6 separate regions of the Homo sapiens genome follow, and regions 1, 2, 3, 4 and 5 are each linked to region 6. Evidence: promoter capture Hi-C in 16 types of primary human blood cells and fetal thymus (Javierre and others, 2016). All regions are on one chromosome and are shown on one strand. The core of a region is centred on a gene start or on the middle of the fragment in contact, and the rest is flanking DNA. Distances in the headings are between cores, read along the strand shown. Region 1 overlaps RELL1 (RELT like 1). Region 2 overlaps TBC1D1 (TBC1 domain family member 1). Region 3 overlaps TBC1D1 (TBC1 domain family member 1). Region 4 overlaps TBC1D1 (TBC1 domain family member 1). Region 5 holds the start of LOC124900692. Region 6 holds the start of PGM2 (phosphoglucomutase 2).

Region 1 (4,443 bases), core at 235-2,734, 150 kb after region 6:
AGTAAGTAACAAGGTCATGGGATGCTATGGTGGAAAGAGCACCAAGCCTTAAGTCAGGGCCTTGGACTTGAAGTCAAAAATCAGAAGGAAGCCGGGTGCAGTGGCTCACGCCTGTAATCGCAGCACTTTGGGAGGCCAAGGCGGGCAGATCACGAGGTCAGGAGTTCAAGACCAGCCTGGCCAATATGGTGAAACCCCGTCTCTACTAGAAATACAAAAATTAGTTGGATGTGGTGGCACATGCCTGTAGTCCCAGCTACTGGGGAGGCTGAGGCAGGAGAATCACTCGAACCTGGGAAGCGGAGGTTGCAGTGAGCTGAGATCGTGCCACTGCACTCCAGCCTGGGTGACAGAGCAAGACTCCGTCTCAAAAAAAAAAAAAAAAAAAAAAAAAAAACAGAAGGAGACCCTGATGCCTGCAGCATATGGTTCTGTCCACCTCCATTTCCTCACCTGTAAAATGGGCATTGTGCCAACACCTGTCTCTCTGTCCTACTGGCTGCTCTGTCTTACTGAGCTCTTGTCTCTGAAAGTTCTGGGTAAATGGCAAAGTGGCATATATCTTTTATCCTGTGTATCTTTAAAAAATATAGTATTTTTTCTCCAGAGTGCGCATTAGGCTTGATTTATATTACGTCATTTAAACTGTCAAATAAATGTGGACCACATATATTAAACAGTTTTTATTCTGGAGGTGGTGATAGCTTTGCAATGATAGGGATTTTTAAAAAGCCCAGAGTGACACCTCAGATTAGAGTTTGCTACTGTTGCATAGGAGTTAAGTAGCCAAGCCATCTTTTCTCATTTCCCTTTAGCTAAAATACAGTGCACTAGGTATTTTTGGAAAATTTCCCCAAAGATCTAAAGTTTGTGGGAGGAAGGAGCGAGAATCACCCTTGATTCCATTACTCCAAGGCACTAGCCATTGTTAGCATATTTCATTCTGGTCTTCTCTAATTGCATTTTTTTTTTTTTTTTTTTTTTGAGATGGAGTGTTGCTCTGTCACCCAGGCTGGAGTGCAGCGGCGCGATCTCAGCTCACTGCAAGCTCCGCCTCCAGGGTTCATGCCATTCTCCCGCCTCAGCCTCCCAAGTAGCTGGGACTACAGGCGCCCACCACCATGCTTGGCTAATTTTGTTTTTATATTTTTAGTAGAGACAGTGTTTCACCGTGTTAGCCAGGATGGTCTCGATCTTCTGACCTCATGATCCGCCCGCCTCGGCCTCCCAAAGTGCTGGGATTACAGGCATGAGCCTGTAATTGCGTTCTTAACTCGCATAGGTTCTTTAATTGCATTTTTAACTCGGATAGGTTCATAATGCAATATAACTTTGTATCATGACTTTTTCAGTTTATGTTACACAGAAATGTTTCTCTATTTCCCTATACACCCAAAAAAGGGCTGCCTACTGTTCCACTATATGGATTCACTGTATTTTACTTCTATGTATCTATTTGGGAGATTTCAGTTGCTCATTATTTTTAAGTGAGTTTTAAAACTCATTTCAATGAATGCCTCTGTGCATGAAACTTTGCCTAAATATCAGAGGACTTCCACAGAAAATGGGTTCCTGAAAAGGCACTTTGAGGGTCAAAGATGTTCACATTTTTGAGGCAATTGATGACATCAGTGTTGATCTGAAGGTCATCCCAGGTTACATTCTCACAGCAATAGCCAAAAAGACTCAATTTCATATTCTTGTTATTTTCTCTGAAAAACATATTCGCTAATTTGTTAGGCAAAAATTGGTACCTTGATTGTTTTAATTTGTACATGGTTGGTAACTATCAGGTTGATTTTGTTTTCTTCTAGTTTTTGAGCCATTTGCAAGTGTGTAATCCTTTATGGATAATTCTGAAATGTAAAAAGCTCTGAAAACAAGTTTTTCTTGTAGGCTTTTGATACCCTCTGTAGGTTGTAAAACTTAACTTGAACTAATGTGAGGTTTTTAATTTTTTTTTTGAGATGGAGTCTCTCTCTGTCTCCCAGGCTGGAGTGCAGTGGTGTGATCTCGGGTCACTGCAAGCTCCGCCTCCCGGGTTCAAGAGATTCTCCTGCCTCAGCCTCCCGAGTAGCTGGGATTACAGGCATGCACCACGCCCAGCTAATTTTTGTATTTTTAGTAGAGATGGGGTTTCACCATATTGGCCAGGCTGATCTGGAACTCTTGACCTCATGTGATCCACCCACCTCGGCCTCCCAAAGTGCTGGGATTATAGGGATGCACCACCACACCCAGCCTAATGTGTGGTTCTATGGTATATATTATTCTATCTTGACTATTTGCATGTTCTGCTGAATAATATTAATGAATTTGATTTGAGTGTTACAGGTTGTGCGCTAAATGCATTGCATTACCTTCCTAAAATCACAAGGTTTGAACTTTGAAGCACATCTGACTTCCAGGTTTTCAGATAAGGGATTATGGTCCTGCATTTTCGCTTCTGTGACTCATTTATTTGTGTCTGTTAGGAGGCAAATATAAAACTGCTCAAAGTAGCAAAATTTCCAATGGGGAAAATAAGTCCTCAAATGAGTGACACTTCAGAAAAAGAAGTACAACTTTGGTACTCTAGTGTGAAATCTAAGAAAATAAGGGTACCCCCAAAAAACTAAGATTTTGTTTATTCCAAGTGACTTTATGAATGGGTGCCAATTAGAATGGAAACTTGTCGGCTAGATGGAGAGTTTGGGCCAAATTTCTCCTCTGCTTTCTTTTGCCAGTTACTAACACAGTTCTCTTTGTAAGAGAAACTGAATCTACCCAAGGGATTTTCTGGAGGATGGATGGGTAGAGGGGCCGGACATCTTACCTTGGGGATCCTTTTGCCAAACCTGTTGAACTCAGAGGACCTGGTTTTCCATTCCCACCTGCAATACCCCAAGGCCCCCGGCTTCTTCTCTTTACTTGATAGCACTGTCCCAGGATCTCAAACAGAGAGAACCCGCCAGCCAGGTATCTCCCATTTCCCTTGCCAGCTGCCAGCCCTACCTGATCCTCCTCTCCCATTTTGTTTGTGCACTCTTGTGGATAACTGCATTCCAGCCACTAATAAAAGTGCCTGTTGTACAGAGAGAAAAAAAATCTTTAAATTACTTTCCTTATCGGTATTATAGAGAGAATATGGCTGAGCTGCCTCATAGCATTGTTGTGTCAGTTATGTAAGATAAAACTAGTGAGTGCTTGGCACACAGTAAGTGATGAAAAAGTGTATTATTATTATTGCCTAGGCTAAACCAGATACTAACCTATCACAGCTAAAGAATGAGACAAAGTTCCTAACCACTCCAGAATTTTCCTTTTTGGGCCTCTGCCATTACTTGAGGGGTTTCCTGTCACCTGTTGCTCCTGAGCCCTGGGTGCTGGTTGTGTAAAGGGCAGAGGGGGCTTTGAGGAGGGGATGTTGGGCAGTGCCCGAAGGAGTAGGGTCTGATGGGCTTGGCAGAGTTCTCTTGGGAGGCAGGGGATTTGTGGGGCAGAGCCATTAGCCACCAAAACTAAGCAAAGAAGGAAGGAAAGCATTACCTTTATAAGGTGATATAGTCTGTATATTTGTCCCTGCCCAAATTTCATGTTGAATGGTAATCCCCAGTATTAGAGGTGGGGCCTGGTGGAAGGTGATTGGATCATGGGGGTAGATTTCTCATGAATGATTTAGCATCATCATGAGAAGTGCTGCCCTCACGATAGTGAGTGAGTTCACAAGAGATCTGTTTGTTTAAAAGTGTGTGGTACCTCCCCCCCAACTCTCTCTTGCTCCTGCTTCCGCCATGTGATGTGCCTGCTCCTCTGTTGCCTTCTGCCATGACTGGAAGCTTCTGAGGCCTCCCCAGAAGCAGATGCCACTATGCTTCCTATACAGCCTGCAGAACTGTGAGCCAATTAAACCTCTTTTTTTAAAAAATAAATTACTCAGTCTCAGGTATTTCTTTTTTGGGGGGACAAGGTCTTGTTCTGTTGCTCAGGCTGCTGGAGTGCAATGGTGTGATCTCGGCTCACTGCAACCTCTGCCTCCTGGGTTCAAGTGATTCTTCTGCCTCAGCCTCCTGAGTAGCTGGGATTACAGGCACCTGCCACCATGCCCGGCTAATTTTTGTATTTTTAAGTAGAGACTGGGTTTCACCATGTTGGCTAGGCTGGTCTGGAACTCCTGACCTCAGGTGATCCACCTGCCTTGGGCTCTCATAGTGTTGGGATTACAGGCGTGAGCCACCGTGCCCAGCCTCAGGTATTTCTTTATAGCAGTGCAAGAATGGCCTAATGTGTAGGGTAGAGCATGACATTTTCTTCTGGAAGAACTTTGGAAGATTCACCAATTGGTTTATTCTTAGATAGCTGATCTATAGGTGTAGTCACAAAATTGTGACAGTTTTTCTTTAGTATTTGATGTAGATTTGATGATGACATGCTTTGTGATTATCCAGGGTCTGAGTGCTTATT
Region 2 (4,795 bases), core at 1,603-4,102, 210 kb before region 6:
GACCTCTCTTATATAGAGCTCCTTATAGACTCATGTGAAATGTTTGGCAAGGGAAATAATGAGGAATGTCCTCACTGGGTCACAGGGACTGTGCCCCTTCAGACTACACCAGATATTATCAAGTTTCTCTTCCCTGAATGGTACAAATTCATGTTCCCAGTATCAGTATAGGAAAGTTCACCTTTATACGGTATTGTCACTTTTTAAAAATTTCTGCCAATCTAATGGGCATAAAATGTTCCTTGAATATGTCCTCCCCTCATTCTACTGCTGTTAGGTATTATTTTATTCAGTCATCTGCTGTTCGAAGACCTTATGTCTTCTTTGAATAATGAAATCCTAATTCACTAATGAATGCTACACATTTTTCAAAGCATAAAAGAGAAAGAATGGATTCTCATAAAAGCGACATTCAGCTTTGTCCAATTATCCATAATTGGACTCTCTATGAGAATGAGAATATGCATCAAAAGAATGGCTACTACCTTAGAAATTCCTTTGAGAAGGGGAACTATCATTTACCTTTGTGTTTCACACTATAGAGCGTACCCTGGACATGTAATATTGGCTTGTTCAAAATGAGTGAATGAGCAATGATCCCCAGGCAGGTCCACGGGAAATACACGCCTAAGGTAACAGACTCACTCAGCAAATAGTGACCAAGTGCCTGCTAAATGCTACGCGCCACAGGGAGGTGCACAGAATCTGTTGCAACCGGTTCTGTGCAATCACTGACCAAGTGTAAGTGCCTGTCCAGGCTCGAGGCAGCCTCCAGAGTGAAGGGAATTGCCCACAAAGGGCTCCCAGGGGCCTGCCTTCAACTCAACACCAGTTACAATGTTAAGAAAATGCAGAATTGCTTTCAAACTCATAATAAAGCTTTCATAAAAGTGAAGCAAGCTGAATTGTTTTGATATATAAAGAAAATATGAGCCAGGCGCAGTGGCTCACGCCTGTAATCCCAGCACTTTAGGAGGCCAAGGCAGGCGGATCACGAGGACAAGAGACGGAGAACATCCCATCCAACACAGTGAAACCCCGTCTCTACTAAATATACAAAAATTAGCTGGGCGTGGTGGCGCACGCCTATAGTCCCAGCTACTCAGGAGGCTGAGGCAGGAGAATCGCTTGAACCCGGGAGGCGGAGGTTGCAGTGAGCCAAGATTGTGCCGCTGCACTCTAGCCTGGCGACAGAGCGAGACTCTGTCTCCAACAAAAAAGAAAGAAAGAAAGAAAGAAAATATTAGCTAAAAGACTAAAGCAAGCAGCATCAGTTAGTAGATCCTAAGAGACAGAAGTGCATTTGTATGCATGTGTTTTTAAAGCAGGTCTGAAGAATCTCTGTGTACTTAATTCAATGTTTCTTCTGCTCTCCCCTACTATCAAAAAAGAGTCTTTTCCACGTCTATTGCCATAATTAAAATAAAATGTTTAAAAAATTGCATTTAAAAAATAATTCACATTTAGAAATGACTTGTTTCTTATTTATCTTAAAACAAGTATCTAGAAGTTTCTCCTTGGAAGATGACACTGGTTCTTAGACAATAATTTCTTTAAAAAAAAAAAACAGAGATGGGGGTCTCGCTATATTGACCAAGCTGGTCTCAAACTCCTGGCCTCAAACAATCCTCCCATCTCAGCCTCCCAAAGTGCTAGGATTACAGGCGTGAGCCACCGTGCCTGGCCCTCACAGACAATAATTTCTAATTTGGAGGCTCCACAGTGAATTCTATTGCAGTCATTATATTGCACATCCTTCAACAGATGGGGTAAACTCTAAGCATGAAAGTTTGGATTCAAGTATTCAAGCTTTAAATCCTGATGCTATACTGAAATTCTCAGTTCAGAACTCACCATCCCAGGCTGGCACAATGTATCTACCAGCAGCCTTATTCATAATCAAGCAGCTCAGAAGGAGAATGGAGAAAGAAACTCTTGACATTAATACCACAGAACAAAAAGGAACAAACTACTGATACAAGCAACTGATACATGCAACAACAAACTACTAATACATGCAACAATGTAGCATAACGTTTCTGATGAGTCTCAGAAACGTTATGCTAAGTGGAAGGAGCCAGAACTCAAAGAGTATGATGCCGGCCAGGCGCGGTGGCTCACACCTGTAATCCCAGCACTTTGGAAGGCCGAGGTGGGCAGATCACAAGGTCAGGAGATCGAGACCATCACGGCTAACACGGTGAAACCCCGTCTCTACTAAAAATATAAACAATTAGCTGGGAGTGGTGGCAGGCACCTGTAGTCCCAGCTACTCAGGAGGCTGAGGCAGGAGAATGGCGTGAACTTGGGAGGCGGGGCTTGCAGTGAGCCAAGATAGCGCCACTGCACTCCAGCCTGGGTGACAGAGTGAGACTCTGTCTCAAAAAAAAAAAAAAAAAAAAAAAAAAAAAAAGAGTATGATGCCATTTATAAGAAATTCCAGAACAGGCAAAACTAATCTAAGGTGAAAAAAATCAAAACAGTGGTTACCTGGGGGAAGGGGTAGTGAGGACTGACTAGAAGACGAATATAGGGCTACTTTCTGGTAGGATGAAATTTTTTTTTTTTTCCCGAGAGGGAGTCTCTCTCTGTCGCCCAGGCTGGAGTGCAGTGGTGCGACCTCGGCTCACTGCAACCTCCGCTTCCCGGGTTCATGCCATTCTCCTGCCTCAGCCTCCCTAGTAGCTGGGACTACAGGCACCCGCCACCACACCTGACTAATTTTTGTATTTTTAGTGGAGACGAGCTTTCACTGTGTTAGCCAGGATGGTCTCAATCTCCTGACCTCATGATCCGCCCACCTCAGCCTCCCAAAGTACTGGGATTACAGGCGTGAGCCACTGCGCCCGGCAGGATGAAAATATTCTATATCTTGATAGGGGTTTGAGCTACCTGAATGTAGCAGCAGTGGTCAAAACTCAACAAATGGTACACTTAAGATTTGCATAACCTACCATATGTAAATTTAATCTCCCCAAAATTGGAAGCAAACACTAAATTCTAGTTAATGATATACATGCTAAAGTGTTTAGGGATGAAGGGTACTGATATCACCTAATTTGAAAGGCATGCAAAAATAAGGTGGACTAATAGATAAATATATGATAAAGCAAATTAACAAAGTCTTTAAAACTGTAAAATCTGGATGGTGGGTATATGAGTGCTCATGGTATAATTCTTTCAACTTTTCTATATGTTTGAAATTTTTCATAATAAAATGTCACAAAAAAAGAAAGAAAATCTTATCTACTAGAAAACAGACCCAAGAAAATCAGTAAGTAGTTATATAGCATTAAATTTTGTTAAGCTCCTTAAAAAAACACACAATAATTAAGATAAAGTACTTAGACATCAGACAAAGTGGCTCCACTACTCACTAGTAACTGCTTGACTGCTCTTCCCCATTTCCTCATCTATAAAATGGGTATTTTACCACCTACCTCAAAAAACTTGTAGAATGAATGGAGTCATTTATGTAAGGAATGAGAACTCTATCTGGCACTTGGCAAACATTCAGTAAGTGGCAGCTGATTTCATACTAATTTTTGTACCACCTCTGTGAATACAGGTGGAAACGACAAGTCCATTGACTAAAACGTGACAGCCTCTAACTTAATGTATAAGTCTTGCCCAAACTGAACCCTGTTCTATAAGATCAAAAGACTCATTCAGGGTTTTTTCTATTTCACAACTCCTCTGACAGTTCTCCAGCACTATTCTTTTGGTCTTTGAAAAGCGCATATGGCCTCCCTGCCGACCCTGACACGCACAGCACTGAGAGAAGCGCTCACTGTCCTCTGTCCGCTTCTGAAGTCCTGTGGCCAGAGAAGTTCTTTGTCAAAGCCATGATCCTACCACGGTCTATGTCACATCTTCCCACATTTTCAAAAGCTTTAGAAATTTTTAGGTGCAACAAGAAGGTAATGAAATCCACGTGGCTAAACTGATAGCAGAAAACATGAAAAGGATCTATCAGTGAATCTCAAGGCTGTGCCTAATGGGTCTATAAAGCAGCTGCTGCTCTGAAAAACCCACTCCTCAGAGCCCATGAGAGTGTCCAGCCTGGAGTACACCAACCTCATCAGGGGATTAGGGCAGCTTCTTTATAGACGAAGACATGAGCCGTCTGGTTCATGATGTTTAGAAACCCCTAGTAAAAGTGTTACACAGATGCCAGTTCTGCTTGTAAGGCTCAGTCACTTCTACATTGAACTCTTATGTTTTTTTGGGTAAAAAAAAAACATTAAACACATTTCTCCATTGGATGATCTATGCCCAAATCATAAAAATATTATGCTGGTCCATAAAAATGAGTCTGCAGTTAGGTCAAAACTTTCCATTCACCATAAATGCTCAAAATGTTTAGTAAAAGAAGACTTTCCATCCACCGTAAATGCTTCATTCCCCTTTCTAGCAGTTATAAATTACTTCAAAATTATCAATTTCCTGTTGGAACAAGTCAGACTGACTCAGATAAAAGAAAATCAGAACAGGGAAAAAGCTATCAGTGGCACAAGAGGGGAAAAAGGGAGTGGAAAAGAGAAAAGAAATAGGCTGAAAAATGAACTCCAGAATTAACTGAAAACTTAGACCAACTGGTCCATCCAAAAATGAACAGGAGAGACACAGAACTTGAATGCTATCTTAAGGGTACAGGTTGGGAAGGGAGGAATGGCTACAAACCAAGACCACAAGTCAAAACCCCAAAAAACACAGGTCATATACTCATGTTAGAGTCACTGCTAAAGGACCTCATGGCTGGCCAATGAGATTAGAAACCGTGGCTGACACTGTA
Region 3 (4,215 bases), core at 1,420-3,919, 130 kb before region 6:
GCTATTTCCTGTCTCCTGTTTCTCTACAGAAGTAAATCATGTTGACATATCCCCAAAGAGTACGGGCTGTAGTATGGAAGAAATATAGAAACAAGGGACAGCTGAGACAGATGCACATAAAGAGGAATATGACCCACTTTATATTTATGTATTTATTATGTTGTTAAACAAATAATGCTTTATTAATACAAGTACACACAAACTCCAAAGCACTAAGAAATTTAAATATCTATGTCATAGCAAACAGCTGGCAATTCAACATCCAGGGTCGACAGAATGCTTGAAGGAGACTGCAAACAGATTGCATTCCCATGGTGGAGAGGGCATTTTCACAGGTGAAGGGGGGCCCAGCTGAAACAGCTTTTCAAGCTCTCCCTCCTCATCAAGGATCATGAGAGGCACTCCACTCAAGGGGAGGTGTGCAATCTGGCGCTCTTCAGGCAGGTCAAAACTCTCAAAGTCTAGAAGATTGAAGGGAAAGAATTTTTCTATTTCTGGATAGGCGTCATCTGAGGCAGGAACAGAACTTTTTGTTTTAACAGTCTTCTCGGTCATCTTTTTGGCAGAAAAGCTTGGCTGTTTTTGTTTTCTGGGTCCATTGGTCTTTACTGACTTTTCTGTAGCTCTGTTGACAGTGCCCAAAGCCTTTCTGGTAGCTTTAGGTAAGGCTGATGGAGCATCGTATGTTTTGCCAAAACGTCGTGTTAAAACTTGAGATATCCCATCTAATGCTTTGATTGAAGGTCTAGACTCCAGCTTCAGCACATCCTTGGCAGCCACACGGGTGCCTGGTTCTCCAATTTCCTTATCAACGTAGATCAGAGTAGCCATTCTGGATTATTGCCGCTCTCAACAGCCACATTCATCTAAGACCGTGGTCCCACTTTATATTTAGATAGAATGTTAACTATAGTGGAAATTGGTGTAATATCTAATTTTTGTGCCTAGCACATCATCTGAGAGTTAGCATGAACTCATATAAAGAGCACAGGCCTGAGGTCAGACAAACCTGGGTAGGAATCTCGGGAGTACCACTTTCTGTTAGCTGTAAGATTTGGGCAAGTTAGCTAACATCCAAGCCCTATTTCCACATCCATAAAATGGAGGTAAAACCCAACTCTTACACATTGTTAAATGGTCAAAAACCACTTAGGTAAAGGGCAGAGCAACCAATAAATAAATAGTTTCTGCCGTTATTGCATTTTCTAATTTATAATGTACTTTTGCATACATTATTTCACTTCTTACTAACCTTTAATAAATGCAAGTCTTCCATTTTTTACTAAAGCAGCACCCCTGAAGTTTCTCTAAACTGCAAAATGCTCAAATGTTTCATCCCGAGTTATCCCTTTTGCCAACTCTGATCTACTGGTGGCAGACAATCCAGCATGCAGTGGTGGGGAGAGCCGAGAGGCCCTCTCTGAGCAACGTGACTACTAATGGTGCTTGCTTGGGCAGGAATACTGGACTATGGCAATGACTATATACCTTTGCCAACCCAACCCCAATCTAGTCCAGGCTATTGATTCACAGCAGCAAAGGGTCACTTCTGTTTCTAAGGCCTAGAGATAAGTTGAGGGCACTTTTGCAGTGAGCCATTTCAATTCAATGATAAATATTCTTGTTGTCTAATTCATTCTATGAATCTTTGACCCAGTGACATATGTGCGTACGTATTTGAGCCCATATGCAAAAATATACAGTTGAGTCTTGAACAATACAGGATTGAGTCGCATGGATCCACTTGTTCTCAGATTTTCTTCTGCGGCTGCCACCTCTGAGACTGCAAGACCAACCCCTCCTCTTCCTCCTCCTCCTCAGCCTATTCAACGTGAAGACAATGAGGGTGAAGACCTGTATGATGATCTATTTCTACTTAATGAATAATGCAATATGTTCTCTTCCTTATGATTTTTCTTAATAACATTTTCTTCAGCTTACTTTATTGTGAGAATACAGGATATAGTGCATAAAACATACGAAATATATGTTAGTCGACTGTGTTATTGGTGAGGTCAACGGAAGACTATCGGTTAAGCTTTTTGGGAGTCAAAGGTTATAGGTGGATTTTCGACTATGCAGGTGATTGGCGCCCCTAACCCTCACATTGTTCAAGGGTCAACTGTGCCTGTTTATTTGCATAAGGCCACCTCAAATACAAAGGGCCATTCAAAGGTATCATTAGAAGTCTTGCTCTTAACCTGACACAGCTAGCTAGAAAGTGACAGAGCCATGACTTGGACCTGGTATATCAACTGATTGATGTAACCTCTATATGGAGCTTGTAAATTCAAGTGCCACCCAGAGTCAGTGAGGGAATGTAAATATATGATGTGCCAGTGGAAGACAATGGGGAACGGGGAGACTGGTGGGGTAGAGTGTGTGTGCCAATCTGCAGGCATTCCAATTGAATTGTTTTTCTTCAAACACTATGGTAGGCAACTTTTACAATAAAGTTTGCAGGCCACCTGTCTGTAATCCTGTCTCATTATACCATTAGCAGGAATTATTATTAAACAACTTCTTTCAACTCTTCCGACACATTCATTTTTTATTAACAGCCTTCTAATAGTACTCTGAATTGGGGCAGAAATAATTAAAGTAAAAGATGTCATATATGTGTCCTAAAGAAGGGACAAATAAAGGAGGTCTAGAGGTGTGAAAGCAAATCTAATCCAGGAACACTTTCTGGAGGAGGTGGCATTTGAGCTAGGAGAGATGGAATGCTTAAGTAAGAGAAGGAGCTAGGAGAGACGGAATGCTTAAGTAAAAGAAGAGGAAATCTCCCCAGGCAAAAGAAACAACAATGAACAAAACAGAGGAAAGCATGGCTACGAGGAAAAATTAACTGTCCCATTTTGCTGGAAAATAGAGTACACCATCTTGGAACAAAAATAAAAAATATGAAGAATCATCTGGGACCAGATATGGTCAAGGTTCTTGATTGCCAAGCTAAGGAATCTGGTGTTTATTGGTTAGAGATGAAAATGGCCTGCTCAGAGAATGGGTTTTCTAGGAGATGAATCTGCTTTGTTGATCTTACAGACTCTTTCTTAATATGAAGCATACTTTTTTCCTAGACAACTTCAAATCTGAAAAATGTGTTACTATTCTTAGCATATGTTTTTGAAAGTAAACTTGGTCGCCATAAACGTATATGAGAAAAGGGGCATAAAAACTGGCAGCAAATCCAGTAACTGTAGCCATCTGTGTTTCTGTTGTTCTAAGCAGAGATCAACAAAAATAGCATTTTAAAAAACATATAAGTATGGTTGAAGTAATATTTTCCAGTGAAGCTTTCCACAAGTGGCTGCTGATAATTTTATCTGGTATTTTAAAATAAAATACACTACCTACAGGACACCATGAAAAACTATCATCTGTTGCATTATAAATGGAAGAATAAAAGGAAGGAAAGACAGAAGGGAGGGAGGAAAATGATATGTAGTTTGTCAGGAAATGTAAATCACATGTCAGAATTGACCTTTTAAAAAGTAATAATGAGCAATAAGAAAAACATCAAACAATCTGTTCTGAACTTTTATGAAAAAGTGGTGTAGGATAAAAATGGAGTTTGGAGTCAGAAAGACTGTTTTGGAATCTCAACTCTCTTCTCTTTCTATATTATTTATTTATTTGTTTTTATTTTTATTATTTTAAGAGATAGGACCTTGCTCTGTTGCTGAGGCTGTGATCATAGCTCACTGTAGCCTCGAACTCTTAGGCTCAGGCAATCCTCCTGCCTCAGCCTCCTGAGTACCTAGGACTACAGGCACGCACCCCCATGCCCAGGTAATCTTTTTATGTTTTGTAGAGAGGGGTCCTGCTGTGTTGCTCAGGCTGGTCTTGAACTCCTGGGCTCAAGATATCCTCCTGCCTTGGCTTCCCAAAGTGTTAGGATTACAGGCATGAGCCACTGTGCCCAGCAATACATATTCCTGTCAACAGATAAATTCCTTGTCTCTAAAAAGTAGTGTTATTTATTACTTTAATGATTGTGAAGAATGAAAACATGTGTCATATCAGGTATCATACATTTGTCTCTTTCCTTCTTTTGGAAAGGAAGAGATACGTCTGCCACATTGTGTAACTGTGGCCATGAGTATTATACAAACTCATGAGGGGCTTATGTTCTCCCATCTCACGTAGGGAGTCTAAATGTTTATGTGGTCAGCTTGATCCTTCCTGTAAGGGGAGGGAGGCCATGGTGCAGAT
Region 4 (4,212 bases), core at 1,488-3,987, 190 kb before region 6:
TCCCATAAACAGAACAAAAACACAAAATCAAGAACAGAGTGGTGAAAACTCCTTCACCTTCCAGATGCCTTCAGATAAACATATCACCACTCCCTTTCACTGTCACCTGGTTCTGTCCTCTCCCCTGGCCCCTCCCTGCAGTCACAGAGACAGAAACTCTCACTTCCTGCCTCAGGTGGACTCCCCACTCTTGTTCAAGAGGAACCCCCACCATTCCATTCGGATTCATTCGGCCCCTCTGGCCCCTTGGGCTCTGAATTCACTCAAACCCTCCAATTCTGAAAAAGACAAAGTTAGCTGCAATCCCCAGGTCTTTCTCCAGTATGGCCTTCTCCTGGAAATGGTTGGTGGCAGGTAACAGGGCTTTACCGCCTGGGGTGAATCATGGGCTCACTATACACTAGTTTATTCCTAGACATCTCTAATCCTCAATTTACTTATCTGCAATATGTGCAAAATAAATAGTCCCTTTTCCTCCCACAAATGTGATGAGGATTAAATAGATAACAGAAAGCACCTAATACACTTCCTGGCAGATCTTATTCAATACACGTTAGCTACAAATCATAACATTTATTACAGTTTCTCCCTAAGCCAGGTTTCTAGAAATACTGGTCAATACTAATAGTCACCGTTTCTTTGATTTCTTCCCATTTGCTCCTCAACTGCAACCTGTTTTCTGCTACCTCCTCTCCATCCAAACTGTACTAGCAGACGTTACTAATGACCTTGTAATGGAGAAACTGGTACAAGTTCCTTAGTTCTTATCTTTCTAGATATCTCTGCAGTGCCCAGTATGACTGACCACTCACACAACCTTGATAAACACTAGGCAACCGGTTTGGTAACCTGTTTCCCTAACTCCTCCTCCATCCTCAGAATACCTTGGAGGGAGGTGGCAGAAGGGGGTTCTGGGTTCTTATCTTTGTATCACCAGCATCCGGCACAATTCCTGACATACAGAAGACACCCACTGCACACTGAGAGTCCACCTACAATCCCTGTGACTAATACAAGCCTCTGTTAGGCAGAATCTTCCAACAGATGAGTATCATCTAAAGTTCTCCTGGGACCTTTAACTCCCACTGTGTTCATGCTGGAAAGGGTCCCCTACTCACCCTCTATCCTCTCACAGAGCTTGTGCAGGCTTTGCAGGGGGCAGCCCTCACACAGCTGGGCTGGCGCCTTAGCTGTCTGCTGCACTGCGGCCACCGTGAAGGCCTGTTTCAGGGTCATCATAATTTCATCAACCTAATCAAAGAGAAGAGAAGTTGTAGTCACCAAAAAGTCAATTTGAAATTAGCTGGGCTGAGATGTCAGAAAATCTTTGGAAAAGATTTTTTAAGCTTTAAGAGTTTTCTGTACTACTCTTCACAGGTTGACAGATAATAATTGGAATAACAGCTAGGATTACAGTCTGAAAATACTACAAGTATGCTCAAAGCTCTTAAAGCAGGTAAGGTAAATGATATGGTTTGGCTGTGTCCCCACCCAAATCTCATCTTGAATTGTAGCTCCCATAATTCCCATATGTCATGGGAGGGACCCAGTGGGAGGTAATTGAATCATGGGAGTGGGTCTTTCCTGTGCTGTTCTATGATAGTGAATAAATCTCACGAGATCTGATGGTTTTATAAAGGGCAGTTCCCCTGCACACGCTGCCCTGCCTGCTGCCATGTAAGATGTGCCTTTGCTCCTCCTTCACCTTCCGCCATGATTGTGAGGCCTCGCTGGCCATGTGGAACTATGAGTCCATTAAACCTCTTTCCTTTATAAATTACCCAGTGTCAGGTATGTCTTTATTAGCAGTGTGAGAACAGACTGATACAGTAAAAACTAAAAATACAAACTACTGAGAAAAAAGGCAAACTCCTTTGATCAGATGTCTAAAATGACATTGTAAAATGCTAGACCAGAAGGTGACACTAAACAAGTTCTTCAGAAATAAAAAATATAAAATGCACAGCCAATTAAGCTTCAGATGTGTATTAGCTGCTTACTAAATAGTCATAAGTAAATAACTAAAGACAAATAATGATATGTCAATGACCATCTGGTTTTCCCTAAGGACAGAAAAATCAGTGGAGCTAAAATTCCTTGTAAAGAAGGTTCCAAGGTAAGAATTGCTTGTCCTCTCTCACCAGAGCCTCATTTGTGCACTGAAACACGTAACAGACAAAATGAAAGCCGCCACCTCCGGAAGACTCCCGACAGATAAACCCAAAGTGGTCCACGTGTCTGATGCCCTGCCAAAGGGAGAGAACGAGATGTTCAGTTGTATCCAGAAGACGCACCATCCTCAGAAATGCACCTCAAGATTTATACAGCACAATTTATTTTACTTTTTATTATCTTTTTGAGATGGAATTTTACTCTTGTTGCCCAGGCTGGAGTACAATGGCACAATCTCAGCTCACTGCAACCTCTGTCTCCAGGGTTCAAGTGATTCTCGTGCCTCAGCCTCCTGAGTAGCTGGGATTACAGGCATGCACCACCACACCCGGCTAATTTTTGTATTTTTAGTAGATATGGTGTTTCACCATGTTGGTCTCGAACTCCTGACCTCAGGTAATCCACTCACCTCAGCCTCCCAAAGTGCTGGGATTACAGGCGTGAACCACTGCGCCTGGCCTACACAGCACAATTTTAAAAAACACTAGGAAATTACTATTTTCTCTGATATTTTAAAATTTCAAAAAGTCTAAAAACATCTCAAATAAAGTTGGTTTACTAGAATGTTCCTTTGATTACTCCCACAACAATAAGAAAAATAAGATCTGAAAATTCAAGTTTTAGTGCTCATTTTAGTATTTGTTTGTTGTTTTGTTTGAGACATAGGTATTAAAGAATAAAAACCACTCAAAAAATCAAAGGCAGACCAGAGATTCATGAAGAAACACAACTAAGCACATACACACCCAAAGGTTAAAAAAATATTTAAAATATATTTGTATTCCTAAAATAAGTAGGTAAATACTGAAGTGAACTGGAATAAAGAAAGAGTCAAAAATTACATGCACACAGAGTAGAGGAGCTTTTAAACATATTAGGCCAAGGCTCTACCATGGTATCATAAGAGCTATTTTTAATAAATATTAATATGTAAATGTGTTTTAAAATCATCAGCTATCAGAGGCACCTTAATACAGATAAAACGTCTGCCATAAATATTAATACATCAATGTATTCTGAAAGCATCATCATGCAGAGATGTGAGTGCTGATAGCTTAATGTTCAGGTAATCATATAAACTTGTAAACTACACTCTTTAGGAAATTATAAAGCTATCACACAAAAATGTAAACATTTAACATTCATATTTCAACAGAAATAGCAGCAAATCAGGATTAAAAACTCTATGGGTAATCTCACTTTCAGGCCAAATATTTTCCAATAAATGAGCAATCATTAACATGCTTTGCCATCTCAATTAATCTTCTCCAGTAGCAAGTTAAGCATAAGGCTACCACTTAAGGAAATATGATTTAGCAAAGCTTTTTCTTTGTAAATGGTTCCCTATTCAATCTGTAAAGAACATTCTTTATTTTCACATTTTGCAGAAAAGTCCCTTTTGAATATTTAAGTAGATCACATTATAAATCAACACTGACATTTTCATATTTTATCAATTATGAAAATGAAAAATCCAGAGTTTAAAAAAAAAAGCAAATATAACCTTAAGTGATCTCATATTTGTTAGGAAGATCCTGAGTAAAACTGGCACAGCTAATCTTAATTGATAGATTCTTCCAAAATCCCTCTATGAAACACCTGGAAGATTATCAAGAAAAAAGTTTTCAAGTAGACACTGTACTCTGAGATAAGCACTATCTATATTTGAAGGGAGAATACTGACAATTGGTACCTAAAAAAGTTATAAATTTTTGTAAAGTAGAAATAGATCTAATAAAAAGATATATTTGTGTGAAATGTGTAAATATATATGTCAAAGATAAGCACTATCTATATTTGAAGGGAGAATACTGACAATTGGTACCCAAAAAAGTTACAAATTTTTGTAAAGTAGAAATATATCTAATAAAAAGATATATTTGTGTGAAATGTGTAAATATATATGTGTAATATGCACAAAGACACACACATGTGCATCTGGAAGTCATGACTGTGGATTATTACTACCAATAACTGAGAAAATTAAAAGTAGATCTATTTTGTCCATTACTGTTGCTAAGAGCAAATTTCTTAATTTCA
Region 5 (4,432 bases), core at 1,560-4,059, 230 kb before region 6:
TACATATACACCATGGACTACTATGCAGCCATAAAAATGAATGAGACCATGTCCTTTGCAGGGACATGGATGAAGCTGAAAGCCATTATCCTCAGCAAACTAACGCAGGAACAGAAAACCAAACACCACATGTTTTTGCTCATAGATGGGAGCTGAATCATGAGAACACATGGACATAGGAAAGGGAACAACAAACACTGGAGCCTGTTGGGGGGCGGCAGGGAGCAGGGAGAGCATTACGAAAAATAACCACATGCTGGACTTAATACCTAGGTGATGGGTTGATAGGTACAGCAAACCACCATGGCACACGTTTAACCATGTAACAAACCTGCACATCCTGCACATGTACCCTGGAACTAAAAATAAAAATTAAAAGAAAAATAAATCCAAATCTTAAACACACCCAACCTGCAGTAGCTTCGCTAACGCCACCCTCTGCCTAGTGTATAGTTACCAAGAATGAATGGTCCTTCCACATACTCAGCGTCACACAAGGCATTCACCCTAAGAACCCACAGCACCAAGAGAGAATGCACTTTCTATAGTTTCTGCGGCAGCCAGAAGTGACTGCCACACTTAAAGCATCACTAAAGCCATTTGCTTTACATTTAAACAGGCAGCTTTCAGGATTCTATTTCACGATCTATTTTTATTACAAAAACATTTGCCTTGCCAAGTCTCCAAGTAAAAATCGCTGATTTCCTATTTATCATACAATTTCCCTTCAATGTAGTACCTGCTGTGCACGTGACCTACTTAGTATTTGAGAAGCAGGGACCCTCTGAGGTTCAGGATTAAAACCAGCCCTCTTAGACTTTGCTAACTTAAGGCTGTAATTCTTACAAGAGACCAACTGGTCACTGTTGAATTTAAAAAGAAAAAAAAATAGTCTGGGATTTGGGAATATTTGTCCTGGAGCTACTAGACATATGCAAGCAAATTTCTAAATATAAATTAACTTCCTACCTACCTCAGATAGGTTTCCAAAATATAAAGTTCAGATTCTTGCAACTTAATTATTTCATGGGGATTTTGTGCATAGAAAACAGTCACACATCCCTGAGTAAACAAGAGGCAGACTAATTTTGTTTGAGACAATTTTGCCCATTATACTATTAGAGATTAGACTATCCACCTCTATCCACTGTGCCTGACTTTGTATTTTCTTCTCTTTTTACACTATATTTAGTTAGAGACACACTCCTTACTCACTTAACACCCTTCTCTCCAGATTTTTTTTTTAGCCCACCTATAAAAATTAGAATCTCCAAATTACAGAAAGTTTCTATTTTTCCTTCACTAGTAACATTATCACTATTGCAAACACCATGGTTTTTGTATTACTGTTGGTGTGTTTTACTAGTATCTTCCAAGTGGGATGACATGGATGGAACTGTATAAACATCCCTGCCTCGCTTTTTCACCTGGAAGAGAGGTTGTAAGATTTCCTGTCCAATTGAAGTTTGCACTGCCAGAATATAAATGTAAAACAGGCAGTCATTTTGAGCACCTGAAATAGGTGTTAAAAGGTACTGTTAAGATCTATTTCTCACAAGCACACTTGTGTGTCTTTCATGCCAAAGTCAGAGTGGGAATGCAGTGAGTCCAGCGGCTGCAGGCTCAGCTGCCCATGGCTCAGCCGCCCAGGCAAATCAGGAACAGAGTCTTGTGCACGCTTGGCTGGAGACAGTTTGCACAAAGCAGGGACCTCTGGGGAAAGAAACCTCAGAGCTCTAAACTGTCTTTGGATGTGATGTCTCTCAGCTGGAAGGAACATATGGAGACCTGCTAGTGTGGGTCAAAGTGGTCACAGACCACAGTGGAGGGCTCTGGCATCGTGCATCCTAAGGATGGGGAACAGACAGTGGCAGAGGACAAAGATGCCTGATTTGTCCTCTCAGACAGAAATCAGTTGCCATTCAAGCTCCAGTCCCACTGCTAACTATTAGGGAGGCGGTCAGGATGGAAGGGGGCGGAGGAGATTGACTGAAGGCAAGTACGTACATTAAAATGCCCAGAAACATGTTTTCCATTCAGTGTTGGTGTCTGGCCAACAGGGAGACATGCAGGTACACTGAGAGTCCACGCCCAACACAGATGCCTATAGGGAGCTTCCTGTGGGAAGAGGGAAGCACAGGCAGGACCACCTCCAGAGGGTCCCGCAGCGTCCTGCATCTCTGGCTGCAGCCCAGTGCTGTGCACAGTTCAGAGAATGAGCTTTGGAGCTCAGACCCGCGAGCTCAGGTCCTGCCTCTGGCTCCCACTAACTCCCTGGTTTGGGGAAAGTGATTTAAGCCACTCCCAGCCTCCACTCACCCACCTGTAAAATGGGCTTCATAAAAATGTCGATGTTCTTAAGATTGTCTAATTAAAGGAAATAATTCATGTAAAGCACTTAGCAGAGTATAAAAAGAGCATAATATGTGGCTATTATTATATTAATTCTTCCTTAATAATCCTTTTATTCTCGTTTTTCTTTTGCATACACAGAACACTTAAACAATGTTATTCAGAAATTCAGGCGGCTTGGTTCTGAGAAGAGATAAGAAATAATATGTGCCTATAGAGACAGAGGAGGCATGAGGAGGGAGTTGAGAAATCACTAATCACTAAGTTTGCAAGAATCTGAGCCACTGACTTGCCTGCCTTTAGCAGCCATCAAGCCTGCAGGAGCTGCCGGAGATGGGTGACAAAGATGAACCTGTGAACATGTGTTACAGGGAGAGAGCTGCTATGGGAGAGTCAGGATACAAGGGAAGGGGAGGGAGGGAGCCATGGGGATACTGACGAAGAGCATTCCAGGCAGAGGGAATAGCCTGTGCCAGGGCTCGGGTGGGGCATGAGGGTGAGTTCATGGCTGGCATGGCACAAGCCAGAGGGGCTAGTGGGAACCTGCATCAGAGGAAAGGTGGACATGGATGGTGATCTCTGCCTAGCGCTGACAGGGGTCTCTAGACATCTTCCTGCAGGAGATTGGGTGGTGGGGCACAGGAGGGAGAGGAGCTGACTTGTTTGGGGTCTGATGAATCAGGGGTGATTACGGCCTAGGAACAGGAGGAGCAGCATCTATGCCAGGCCCTGTTCTGTTTGGTACTTTTAGCCATTACTTAAAGGCACAAAGGCCATGTTTGTCCACTTGACAGGCAAATATATACAACTTACTGGTCACCAGACTCAAGACTCAAAACAATCGCAAAAGGACTGCTCAAAACTGATGAATACTTTATAGGTACAAACTATGCGAGGGAAAAAAACTTCTCAAGTATAGACATGACTCCCCCACCCCGCGAGACAAGGTCTCACTCTGTTGCCCAGGCTGGAGTGCAGGGGTGTGATCACAGCTCACTGTAAACTCAAACTCCTGGGCTCAAGTAATCCTCCTGCCTCAGTCTCCCAAGTAGCTAGGACTACAGCTTCACAACACCACGCTCAGCTAATTTTTATTTTTTTGTAGAGACAGGGTCTCACTATGTTGCCAAGGGTGGCCTCGAACTCCTGGCCTCCAGGGATCCTCCTGCCTTGGCCTCCCAAAGCACTGAGCTTACAGGCATGGTCAACTGTGCCAAGCCAGGAAACCAGTCCAAATTTAAATAATGGTTCATATCCCAAAGGACAAGATAGAATAAGAGCCAAGAATGTTTGAGTTAATCACTTAAAGCAGAAACAGATTATGAAGATCAATCTGCATTAACAGAGCAGTGGCAGGTCAACGGAAGGAGCAACACACTGCCAGAGCCAGAGGCCAAGTGAACACCAAGTTCAACTCAGGACTCCAGGAGGGGCAGAGGCTCTTCGGAGGACAGGACTCGGACCAGGGGTTCCCAAACAGTGACGAGGGCAATTCCCCTGGAGAAGAGAGCTAAAGGAGGCAGCAGCTTCCATGGTCCTCTGTCATCTGAAGGGCAGGAAACAGATGCAAACACATTTCCGTGTGGCTTCAGAGACCAGAGAAGAAGCCAGGAATCAGAGGACAGGGAGGCAGGATGCGGCTCAGTCTGTGAATGCTCGTTTGAAAACTTGGAACTGTTCTATGATGGAGCAAGCAGTCATCTGTGGCCCCTAACGCATCCTGGCCACTGCACAAAGCATTTCCGAGCAGAAATTTCCAAGCGACCATGCCCTGTGAGGTATGGCCACCGCAACACCGAGGCACTCTTTATTAAACACCGAAACTTGGGTTCTGGCACCCCTTTCAGACATGAATCAGCTTCGTTCCTCCTCCAGGGCCTCCCTCTGGTGGCTCTGGTTCCCACTGCTCCACTCCACACCCTCTAACAGGGTGCTACAGGACCTGGGAGGAAGAGCCCTTCTTTGCGGTAAGCAGACCTCTCCACGGGGCAGGGGAAGAGAGATGTGGCCATCTGGCTCACACTGGCAGGAAGAGAAATCAAACCCTGGCTAGGCTCAGCAGCTCCACCGAGGGGCCACC
Region 6 (4,710 bases), core at 612-3,111:
AAGGCACGGTGGAAAGACAGAGGGCACCTGCCAGGGCGCCTTGCCAGTCGCCGGGGGTAGTCTGACTAGAGGGCTGCAATGCTTTTAGCTGGTGGGAGGTTCACTGGAGAATGAATGGGCTTCTTCTCAGGTGCCAGTCTCAAAGCAAAGAAGAAATTAACAGAGGATAGAACATGAGAAGTGATTAAAAAAAAAAAAGGACATCTCATCTCTACCCAGAGAAATACAATTTTTCTATACACAGATGCAACACTGTGTAGAAATTAGATTGTTTTCTTCTTCTTCTTAGAGAAAGTGCATTATGAACTCTGACTTCAAAAGAATTCTGTACTCTGCAAGCTACAAGTTATCAGAAATGGAAACATTTTTCTTCCCTTGTGAATCACAAGGTTATCTTCCCAGGAAAAGAAAAACGCCCCCAAGGAGTTGCCAATAGCATCCTGGAAATGGGATTTGCTGACATTTTATTTGTAGGGGCCAGAGAATGGTAAATAAAGACAAAGACCTGACCCCTACTGACCTTGTAATCTTCTTTGTTCATTCAAGTATTTCAGTGACCTACTATGTGTCATGCACTATGCCTATGCCAGGCACTACAAACCAAGGTAGTGAGAATAGAGAGGCCTGGCCACATAATTTATGGAGGTCCAGTGCACAATGAAAGTGGGTGACCTCTTGTTTTACCAGTAAGACTTTCAAGACAGGACAGCAGGACATTAAAACAACAGTGGGCCCTTCAAGGAGCGCGAGTCCTGTGAGACTGCAGGGGTCTCTCGCCCCTGAAGTCGGCCCTGGAGACAGACATTAAACAAACCTACAAACAAGTGTTTTTGGAGTTTTTTGTTTTTACCATTTGTAGTAAGAGCTATAAAGGAAAATAACAGACTGTTTAGAGTGAATATTAGGGATAAATAATTTAACGCTTCGGAGCCAAGGAAGGACTGACTCTCTACGTAAGCCACATTTAAGTTCAGGCACAAAATATGAGTCACAACGGGAGAAACAAGTTCAGCAGGAGAGCAGCGAGGGACATTCCGAGAAAACCTAACAGCAAGCAGAACAGGTCGAAAGGGCGAGACGCAAGTTTATAGAGAGGAGAGGGAGTGATGTCCAGAGCTGGGTTCCTGATTCTAAGAAACGGAATGAAGAGAGAGAAAACCGTGCTGTGTCCCAGGTGTGCCTCCCTGGCAGTCAAAGTTCTAAGGGGGACTCCTGAAGCCAGGCGGGCCCACCCGGGAGGACAACCCACGTTTGTAACCAAGCCCTCGGGATGGGAGGACCGGACCAGAACGCTGCTCTGCAAAGGTCTCAGCGGCCAAAGGAATACGCGGGACGGAGCGATTCTGGGTCCATGGGGATGCACAGCCGACTACCGACGACGAGCCAGCGGTCTGAGTGACAGTAAGGCGTGCGCCCCTCAACTAGACAGCGTCCAGGGTCTGGCCGCGCTTACACCACCCTGGCTCGCTCCTCTACTCCGAACTTGCAGTCCGGCCGGCCGGATGGCTGGTTTCGTCCGGGGACAAGCCTTCCCGGCCTAACTCTGAACGTGCCGCATGCCGGCCAGGTCGAAGGAAGCCTAGCAGCGGCCGTACGCTCCTGGGTCTTCCCGGGGGAGAAGCGGGATGCACTGGGCGGGAAGGCAGCTCAGGCAGAGCAAGCAGCGCCGCGCCTGGAGAGGGCAGAGCACCCGGCCCCGCTCCAGGCGCTCCCCGCCTGCTGGTGCCCCTCACCTTGTCCCAGCGCAGCCACTGGGCGGTCTCCTGGTCCAGCCGGGCGTCCTCGCCTAGACCGCTGCCTTCTGGAGCCGCCATCGCTGAGCTTGTGCTACCGCTGCAGAGGGAAGCAGGCGGTGAGATCTGCCTTCCGGCCCGGCCCCAAGACGTGGAGGCGGAGGCGGGGGCGGGGAGAGCCGCGGCGGAGCCAGTCGGTCCGGGGGAAAGTGACGCGCGCCGCGGCGGGCACGCCTCCTTGCCGTTTGCGGGTGCGCTGCAGGGGGTGGGAGTGAGCGAGGAGGAATTGCGGGGCTAGGGTGGGTTGCTGGAACCTGGCACGTGTGAGAAGGGTTTGCCATCGTCTCTGATGCATCCAGGCTACAGCCAGCCGTGAGTTCCTGCTGCGCGCCAGGCACATGTCAGATGCTGGGATACCAGGAAGTGCACCCAGATAGGGGCCTGAAGACTATGTAGAAACTCAGAGGGTCAAGAACAGCCAGAAAAAAATCTTGAAAAAGAAAAGCAAAGTAGGAAGACCAGTGGAACATAAGATAGAGACCAGAAACAAAAATACACGTGTATGGACAATTTATTTCAGAGGCGGGGCTGCAGAGCACAGGAAGGAACTATTTTTGGTTAATGGTGCTCGGTCAAAGGGATATCCACGTAGGGAAAAGAAAAAAGGGAACTTGGCCCCCTACCTCCCATCACACACAGCTCTGAACTCCAGATCAATTGTATCTCTAAGTGCGAAAGGTAGTGTAGCAGGAGGAGCCGCAGACAAAACTCCTCAGACACCGGATTAAAGAAGGAAGAGGTTTTTATTCGGCCGGGAGCGTCGGCAGACTCGCGTCTTAAGAGCCGAGCTCCCTGAAAAAGAAATTCCTAGCCATTTTAAGGGCTTACAACGCTAAGGGGTCTGTCTACGTGAAAGGGTCATGATAGATCAAGTAAGCGTGAGGAACGTGACTGGGGGCTACATACATCAGCTAACAGAACAAGAAGTTTTACAGTGCTTTCTCATACGATGTCTGGAATTTACGGATAACGCCAGTAGTTTTGGTCAGGGGTTAATATTATTATTATTATTTTAACCACCAGGGCCAGGTGGTGGCGCCAAGGTCGTCTAGCTATTTATCTTACTTCTGTTTTTTTCCAACTTTTTGCTTTCTCTCTTTTCTCCTGTCTTATAAACTAGGGAAAAGGGGAGGTGGGGGAGAAGCTGGGAAGGACAGCAGAAATGGTGGTCTCTTTCCATAGTAGCGTGAAACTTAGGGAAACTAACATAGGAGCACATCTTCCTGACGCTGGTATCACCAAGCCATAAAGAAGATGCATACCCATAAGCATAAAAAAGCACGGGCAAGAATATTTCTAGCAGCATTATTTGTAAAAGCCTCAAACTGGAAACAACCCAGATGACCATCGACAATACAATGGATAAATACTTGGTAGTATATCCATACCAATTCATATAAATAAATCATGGCACATTGATAGAGCAATGCAGGTGAACTACTGTTATACACAACATCATGAATGAATCTCACAAACACTGAGTGACAGAGTTCAAACACCCACCCCCATACCCCGTCACCCCAAAATACTGCATCATTCATCTGTAGTCCCAGCTATTTCGTGGTGGGGGAGCTGGAGGGAGTCCTGAGGAGGGAGGATCGCTTGAGCCTGGGAGGTCGAGGCTGCAGTGAGCCCTGATTGTGCCACTGTTCTCCAGCCTGGGAGACAGAGGGAGACCCTGAAAAAAAAAAAAAAAAAAACACTGAAATATATAAAATTATAGGTAAAGGAAACAAATCAGTGATTTTCAAGAGCTGGGGGTTGGGGGAGGGGTTGACTACCTAGGGCACAAGGGAATTTGAGGGAGTTGTGGAACTGTTCCGTATCTTGATTGAGTTTGGGGTTTACTTTTATCAAAACTTATAGAACTGTACGATATAAAGGGTAAAATTCACTGTATGTAAGTTATATCTCTTTTTTTTAAGTTTTAAGATTAAAAACTAAAAAGGAGGCAAAACTAACCTATGGATGTCAGCAGAGTGGTAGCTTTGGGAAGGAGGGAAAGTGCCTTCTGGGGTTCCGGGACTGTTCTGTTTCTTGACCTGGACGATGGTCAACAGGTGTGTTGACTTTGTAATATTCACTAAGCTGCAATCTTATGAGTTGTGCATTTTCCGTATGTTCTTCAACTTTATTTTATTATTATTTTTTGAGACACAGTGTCGCTCTGTCACCCAGGCTGGAGTGCAGTGGTGTGATCTCGGCTCACTGTAACCTCTGCCTCCTGGGTTCAAGAGATTCTCATGCCTCAGCCTCCTGAGTAGCTGGGATTACAGGGGCGTGCCACCATGCCCGGCTTATTTATTTATTTATTTATTTGAGACACAGTCTTGCTCTGTCACCCAGGCTGGAGTGCAATGGTGGGATCTCAGCTCACTGCAACCTCCATCTCCTGGGTTCAAGTGATTATCCTGCCTCAGCCTCCTGAGTAGCTGGGATTATATGTGTGAGCCACCAGGCCCAGACTTTTTTTTTTTTTTTTTGTATTTTTAGTAGAGAACGGATTTCGCCATGTTGGCCAGGCTGGTCATGAACTCCTGACCTCAAGTGATCTGCCCACTTCAGCCTCCCAAAGTGTTGGGATTACAGGGATGAGCCACCGCGCCCGGCTAGTGTGTTCTTCAATTTTAAAAAGAAAAAATATATATCCAGGATCTGTAATATCTGTTTAGTGTCATGGGAAAGGCATACTAATCATGTAATCACGGCAGTTAATACGTAATTACAAACTGATAAAATGCTGGAAGGAAAGCAGAGAGATGTCATGAGGCTGCAGGTTAACAGAGGCCACCTCAGTCAGGAAGCTTGCCTGAGCACTGGAAGCTTAAGAGAGATGTGAGGGAAGGATGTAGTTAATGTGAGAGTGTGGTCCTTCCCCTGACTGCAAAACCTGAGAGGCTGGAGCACAGAGAAGAAG

Evidence for each region. Contacts are between HindIII fragments. The CHiCAGO score rates a contact against its expected background, and 5 or more counts as called.
Region 1: a contact is called between a fragment that was not itself captured here and the fragment with the promoter of PGM2 in region 6, in 1 of 17 cell types (neutrophils). The highest score is 6.9, in neutrophils.
Region 2: a fragment that was not itself captured here is called in contact with the fragment with the promoter of PGM2 in region 6 in 12 of 17 cell types (M0 macrophages, M2 macrophages, M1 macrophages and 9 more); the score reaches 13.7 in M0 macrophages.
Region 3: a contact is called between a fragment that was not itself captured here and the fragment with the promoter of PGM2 in region 6, in 1 of 17 cell types (naive B cells). The highest score is 5.8, in naive B cells.
Region 4: a fragment that was not itself captured here is called in contact with the fragment with the promoter of PGM2 in region 6 in 13 of 17 cell types (M2 macrophages, M1 macrophages, M0 macrophages and 10 more); the score reaches 12.0 in M2 macrophages.
Region 5: a contact is called between a fragment that was not itself captured here and the fragment with the promoter of PGM2 in region 6, in 7 of 17 cell types (M1 macrophages, M2 macrophages, naive B cells and 4 more). The highest score is 8.7, in M1 macrophages.

Annotation. Positions count from the first base shown.
Region 1 is chr4:37,677,473-37,681,915 of GRCh38, reverse strand. All of the region lies in intron 1 of RELL1 (RELT like 1), which reads left to right. Among named protein-coding and RNA genes, the nearest start is that of RELL1, 6.7 kb to the left of the region's middle. The HindIII fragment of the contact is 4,673 bases long and covers 1-3,820 here.
Region 2 is chr4:38,036,723-38,041,517 of GRCh38, reverse strand. The region is part of intron 8 of TBC1D1 (TBC1 domain family member 1); the gene reads right to left. Among named protein-coding and RNA genes, the nearest start is that of PTTG2, 79 kb to the right of the region's middle. The HindIII fragment of the contact is 2,082 bases long and covers 1,812-3,893 here.
Region 3 is chr4:37,957,051-37,961,265 of GRCh38, reverse strand. All of the region lies in intron 2 of TBC1D1 (TBC1 domain family member 1), which reads right to left. It overlaps PTTG2 (pituitary tumor-transforming 2), which reads right to left and starts at 868. Exons shown (of 1, transcript NM_006607.3): 1 at 138-868. The coding sequence starts at 831. The coding sequence ends at 256. The HindIII fragment of the contact is 1,258 bases long and covers 2,041-3,298 here.
Region 4 is chr4:38,018,625-38,022,836 of GRCh38, reverse strand. TBC1D1 (TBC1 domain family member 1) reads right to left here. Exons shown (of 22, transcript NM_001396959.1): 5 at 2,142-2,246; 6 at 1,119-1,251. Among named protein-coding and RNA genes, the nearest start is that of PTTG2, 60 kb to the right of the region's middle. RefSeq lists an enhancer at 1,276-2,475. The HindIII fragment of the contact is 1,519 bases long and covers 1,978-3,496 here.
Region 5 is chr4:38,055,667-38,060,098 of GRCh38, reverse strand. The region is part of intron 14 of TBC1D1 (TBC1 domain family member 1); the gene reads right to left. LOC124900692 reads left to right here and starts at 3,950. Exons shown (of 2, transcript XM_047416508.1): 1 at 3,950-4,319. The coding sequence starts at 4,133. RefSeq lists an enhancer at 2,350-2,519. The HindIII fragment of the contact is 8,507 bases long and covers 1-4,432 here.
Region 6 is chr4:37,823,837-37,828,546 of GRCh38, reverse strand. PGM2 (phosphoglucomutase 2) reads right to left here and starts at 1,861. Exons shown (of 14, transcript NM_018290.4): 1 at 1,734-1,861. The coding sequence starts at 1,814. RefSeq lists enhancers at 1,189-1,688, 1,689-2,190, 3,223-3,392 and a silencer at 1,679-1,978. The HindIII fragment of the contact is 6,567 bases long and covers 1-4,599 here.